2 separate regions of the Homo sapiens genome follow, and region 1 is linked to region 2. The links are contacts of gene promoters, found by promoter capture Hi-C in human tissues and cell types (Jung and others, 2019). All regions are on one chromosome and are shown on one strand. The core of a region is centred on a gene start or on the middle of the fragment in contact, and the rest is flanking DNA. Distances in the headings are between cores, read along the strand shown.

What was found. The method cuts DNA at HindIII sites, captures the fragments that hold promoters and counts their contacts. A contact is called where the count stands out against the background at its distance.
Region 1: a fragment that was not itself captured here is called in contact with the fragment with the promoter of ZNF600 in region 2 in 2 of the 25 tissues and cell types used here (small bowel and spleen).

The regions. Positions count from the first base shown.
Region 1 is chr19:53,073,110-53,075,809 of GRCh38, reverse strand. ZNF160 (zinc finger protein 160) reads left to right here. Exons shown (of 6, transcript NM_001322131.2): 4 at 627-753; 5 at 1,542-1,670. Among named protein-coding and RNA genes, the nearest start is that of ZNF160, 29 kb to the left of the region's middle. The HindIII fragment of the contact is 9,128 bases long and covers 1-2,700 here.
Region 2 is chr19:52,785,183-52,788,217 of GRCh38, reverse strand. It overlaps ZNF600 (zinc finger protein 600), which reads left to right and starts at 1,427. Exons shown (of 6, transcript NM_001321866.4): 1 at 1,427-1,623. RefSeq lists a silencer at 1,269-1,418 and enhancers at 751-1,608, 1,609-2,467. The HindIII fragment of the contact is 28,786 bases long and covers 1-3,035 here.

The DNA.
Region 1 (2,700 bases), core at 1-2,500, 290 kb before region 2:
ACCCCCTCCTTGAAATTGATTAGTTTGCTTGAGTGGCTCACATAACACAGGGAAACACTTATATTTACCCATTTATTATAGAAGATGCTACAAAGCACACAGATGAACATCTAGATGGAAGTGATCTATTAGTTGAGATATGGGAAAGGAGTGAGGAGCTGGGATGTATTCTCTCATGTATTCTGTCTTTTTTGAGTTTTCATGGAGGCCCCATTATGGAGGCCTTGCTTCCATTATTGGCATTGGTGATCAACTGAACTTTCATTCCCTCTGTCCTCCCGAGAGGACAGAGGCTTAGTCTAACCGAGCCTCAGCCTTTCCAGTGACCACCCACCGAGCCTTAGTTCCGGTGACCGCCCTCCATCCTGAAGCTACCTAGGTGCTCCAGACACCAATTATCCCATTAATGTACAAAAAGATACTTATCACTCCACTGATTTCAAGTGAGCTCTTATGTCAGGAGAGGGGGATGAAGACCAAATCTGTATGTCACATTGTCACAATCTGGATCTGTCAGCTCACCCACTTCAATTTAACCTATTCTCACATTTTTCTCCTCTTCTCCTTTTATGTGAAATTTTGAACTCTCCCCTTAGCCACTTGGTGAAATGTGTTTTTCATTTTAGGTACGGTTGACATTTAGGGATGTGGCCATAGAATTCTCTCAGGAGGAGTGGAAATGCCTGGACCCTGCTCAGAGGATCTTATACAGGGACGTGATGTTGGAGAACTACTGGAACCTTGTTTCTCTGGGTGAGGATGACTTTCTTCCAGAAGTCAAGATCTGTTCTTGTCTATTGTTGCATTTTCCCTTACGAGTCCCTGGAGAGCCCCTGCATTGCTTGACTGAGATTGAAGTCCTGTTGACTCTGAAATGGAAAGCTTAATCATGGGAAACCTGGACTTTAATCTTCCCCTTTCTCAGATGTTCTGCCTCCTTTGTACTTCATCATTTGAGGTTTCAGAGCTTTTGTATGCATAATACATTGTGTTAGACTTTTGAAATGTCAGATTTCCTGTTTTCTACCTCTCTGCTTTGGATTAAGTTGTTGGTGGAATAGAGCCTTCTATCAGCATGTACCATGTTTCCTGGGTATTCAGAAGGAGGCATTCAGTGGATGATTTTTTTTTTTTTTTTTTGAGGCGGAGTCTCGCTCTGTCGCCCGGGCTGGAGTGCAGTGGCGTGATCTAGGCTCCCTGCAAGCTCTGCCTCCCAGGTTCATGCCATTCTCCTGCCTTAGCCTCCCGAGTAGCTGGGACCACAGGCGCCCGCCACCACACCTGGATAATTTTTTTTTATGTTTTTAGTAGAGACAGGGTTTCACCATGTTAGCCATCATGATCTCCATCTCCTGACCTTGTGATCCACCCACCTCAGCTTCCCAAAATGCTGGGATTACAGGCATGAGCCACCGCGCCTGGCCCAGTGGATGAATTTTTGAAGTTTTCTTAGATCCACATATAATGTCCTCTCATGTAAACATAGGGCTGGGATTCTGGAAAAGCCCCGGCACATTGTGATCCTTTCTTTTTATAAACAGGACTGTGTCATTTTGATATGAATATTATCTCCATGTTGGAGGAAGGGAAAGAGCCCTGGACTGTGAAGAGCTGTGTGAAAATAGCAAGAAAACCAAGAACGCCGGAATGTGTCAAAGGCGTGGTCACAGGTAAGAGCTCAGATGGGCAGAGAGAAGGCCACTCATTAACTAGAGTGTGGGAGGGGGCACAGTAGCTCACGCCTGTAATCTCAACACTTAGGGAGGCCAAGGTGGGCAGATCACTTGAGGTCAGGAGTTCGAGACCAGCCTGACCAACATTGTGAAACCCTATCTCTACTAAAAATACAAAAAAAAATTAGCCGGGCATGGTGGCGTGTGCCTGTAGTCCCAGCTACTCAGGAGGCTGAGGCAAGAGAATTGCTTGAACCCGGGAGGTGGAGGTTGCAGTGAGCCAAGATCATGCCACTGCACTCCAGCCTGGGTGGACAGAACAAAACTCCGTCTCAAAATAAATAAATAAATAAAGTGGGAAACTCTCTGCAGATGAGAGAGTTCTTTGGGAAAATAAGTTGCCTTAGAGATAGAGGCAAAGTCTTTATCATGATGGACAACACCCTGTCATTTGAACTCTATGGTTCCTTCTGAAGAAACTGCTTTCTTTCTTGGTCTCTCCCTCTGTATTTAATTCCATATGGTGCTCAGTTCTTAGTCCATATGGGTCAGAGGGGAAGCCTCCATAGTCCTTAGTCCTGACGTCTAGACCTGTTTATGTTCCACCCCATTTCCTGTGCGTGGAAGACCTGCTCAGGAGATGGAAACATTGGCTGCTGCTCCTTGGCATCTGCTGCCCCAAACCTCATGGAAGAGTCTCCAGCCGTCTCCGCCTGTCGAGGTCCCTCGGCCATTTCTTCCATTCTGCTTTTGCCACTTTCATGGGGGTGTGTGATAAGCGAGTGGGTTCTATCTTCTAAGATTGTTCTCAGCATAACCGTAAAGACACCTAACAAAATCCTTCTGTCATTGATCCTCAGTCTTACATGGGGTGCGTATTCTGTTTTTCCAGGCTTCAGCACAGAAATACAAGTACTGCATGTTGTCACTTACATTTGGAATCTAAACCAATAAAACTAATAGCAGCAAAGAGTAGAATGTGGGTTACCACAGGTTGGGGACTGGAGGGAATAGGGAGATGTTGGTC
Region 2 (3,035 bases), core at 178-2,677:
ACCCATGCCTTTTCTCAGTCCTTGTCATCTTCACTTAAATTCCATCTTCTATAACCTAGTGACATGAGCTTGGGAAGAGGCTGCACTGGGCATGGTCCTGGGAAGGGCTCACACCAGAGATGGATGGAGATGGGGTGTGGACCCCAAGGTGTCAGTGATATTGGGCAGCAGGGATTGTTCAGGGGCCACATCTGGATGCACATTTAGCTCTTTGTGGATCAGATCAGAGAATCTATGTATGAAAGTCATACATTAATGTATGCACTGGTATCTGTGTACTGGTATCTGGTAAATTCTGGAAAAGGAGACAAACTAGGGGAGATATTTCTTTTTCTTTTTCTTTTTCTTTTTTTTTTTTGAGACGTAGCCTCGCTCTGTCGCCCAGGCTGGAGTGCAGTGGCACGATCTTGGCTCACTGCACGCTCCGCCTCCCGGGTTCACTCCATTCTCCTGTCTCAGCCTCCCTAGTAGCTGGGATTACAGGCACCCACCACCACGCTTGGCTAATTTTTTTGTATTTTTTAGTAGAGATGGGGTTTCACTGTGTTAGCCAGGATGGTCTCGATCTCCTGACCTCATGATCTGCCCGCCTCAGCCTCCCAAAGTGCTGAGATTACAGGTGTGAGCCAGCGCGCCCGGTCTTGTTTTTGTTTGGGTTAGGCGGGCTCCTGTAGTTCCAGTTACTCGAAAGGCTGAGGCAGGAGAAGGGCGTGAACCCGGGAGGCGGAGCTTGCAGTGAGCCAAAATCGTGCCACTGCACTCCAGCCTGGGCGACACAGCGAGACTCCGTCTCAAAAAAAAAAAAAAAAAAAAAAAGTAAAAGAGCGAGAGAGAGATCAGGAAGAGGACCCTGCAGTTAGGGGGTGTTACTTTGTCGCCCAGGATGGCCTGGACCCCCAGGTTCAGGGATTCTCCCGCCGCTGCTTCCTGAGTAGCTGGGACCTCAGGCTTCCGCCTCGTGCCCGCATCCCTGCTGTGTTTAGGCAGCAGGTGGTGACCTCACTCCTCCCTGGCCTGAGCTCTCCGTCCCGCATCCCAGGCGGAGGCCCTAGGGAACACTTTGAAGCTGAGCACGGGGTGGACCCTCCCTCCTGAGTGAATGGAGAATAGAAAGGGAGAGGATTTCTGTTCTGTTCTGTGGGCCATCAGCATGAAATCGTATGTTCCGCCCTGGCAGGGCTTTGCATTTCACATTCTAGTTTGCATTCCCGTTCCAGATAATTCCAGGGCTTTTGAATCATGCCTCAGCCTTCCTGGCCGCTGTCGCCTCCAAAAACTCGAAAAACAGAGGCGCTGAGTGCGAGGCTGAGAAGCACAGGTCCCGCCCCGGGCCCTCCCTCTGCCGGTTCTAAAGGGCAAGGTCTCTCCGCCTGGGGCCCCGCCTCTACCCCGCCCAGGTCCAGCCAACCTGCCCCGGCCTGGCTTCAGTCCTGGGCGCGCACAAACCCGGAAGCGGATCGCGTGGAGTGAAGGTCCTACCACGGCGCGTGAGTTTTGCTCTGCCTTGGATTAAGTCTGCACTTCCCAGGTCCCCGGCGCTTCTGCCCCTGGGACGTGGGATCCCCACGGACCTGGAAATTCTCGCCTGTCTTCCCTTCACCCAGAGCAAATTGAGACGTCCCGGTAAGAGTCTGGAAGTTGCTTGCTTTTGGGTTTGAAGTCGCTCGGAGGCTGGTCCCGTCCCCGGTCTTTCTGCTATAGGGCAATGTATACACTTCCTATCGCGTATTTTTCCTGCTCAAAACATTTTTCTGACTATTCCCGCCCCGTGCTTTTTAAAGTCCTCACCCGCGAGGTGGATTCCAGCCCTGGGCGCCTCCCAGCCTCGCCCCAGTTGGCACCTGGAGCGCGGCGCCCCGGCCCCAGCCCCGGGGAGGCTGCGTCCTCTGCCTGGTCCTGGGATCCTGCAGGTCCCACCTTTGTCTTAGGGTGCCGTCGCCCACCACGTCCCTCCTGGTGCCGGGCCCTGCTGCTCCCCAAGTCTTCGCTTCCCCTGAGCCAGGGTTGGGGTGGGTCGCAGGGGCTTGTCCTATGATACCAGGTGTTCTTTCCTGTCCAGCTCCACCCCCTGGAAAATGCGCTTCTACGGGATGCAGGCGTCTTACTCCAAACCCGCCTGTGATTACTCCAAACCCGCCTGGGCCAAAGGGATCAGGAGATAGAGAGAGGGACTGAGAGAGCAGTAGAAAACCAGAGACAGAGAAAAGAAGAATGAGAAAGGCCCATAACAGATGGCAAAGTAGAGGATGGGTTAGGAATTTGCCAAGAGACAGCAAAAGTGAAAGAAAAAAAACTAAGAAAGCAGGAGGAGAAAAGCAACTGGAGAAATGTAGAGAAAAGCTAGATGTACAGAAAGATGAAGGACAGCAAGGTAGGGAGAGGGGCAGCAAAGAGGGAGGCTCACCAGAGTGAGGGAGAGGAGGAGGGATTTGGAGCCAGGGCAGACAGAGCAGAGTGGTGCTGGTGGCAAGAACAGATGGAGAACCACAGCAGGGAGGACACCTGGGGATCTGAGGTGCTGGAGAGTGGGGACAGAGGGGTATAACAGGGAAGAGAGAATTTAATAGGGAGAGCAGAGGAGACGGAGAGATAAGAGAAGAGGCTGTAATATATAGACATTGAGGAAGATTGAAAGATTGGGGAGAAAGAACAACAAGAGGTTAAATAAGGACCGGGCGCTGTGGGTCATGCCTGTAATCCCAGCATTTTGGGAGGCTGAGGCGGGTGGATCACCTGAGGTCCGGAGTTCGAGACCAGCCTGATCAACAGGGAGAAACCCCGTCTCTATTAAAAATATAAAATTAGCTGGGAGCGGTTGCACATGCCTGTAATCCCAGCTACTAGGGAGGCTGAGGCAGGAGAAACCTTTGAACCTGGGAGGCAGAGGTTGCGGTGAGAGCCAAGATCGCACCGGTGCACTCCAGCCTGCACAACAAGAGTGAAACTCCATCTCAAAAAGGAAAAAAAAAAAAGAGGTTAAATAAGCTGTGAGAATGGAGCAGAAGAGGTGGAAGAGAAGTAATAGAGGGAAGAAG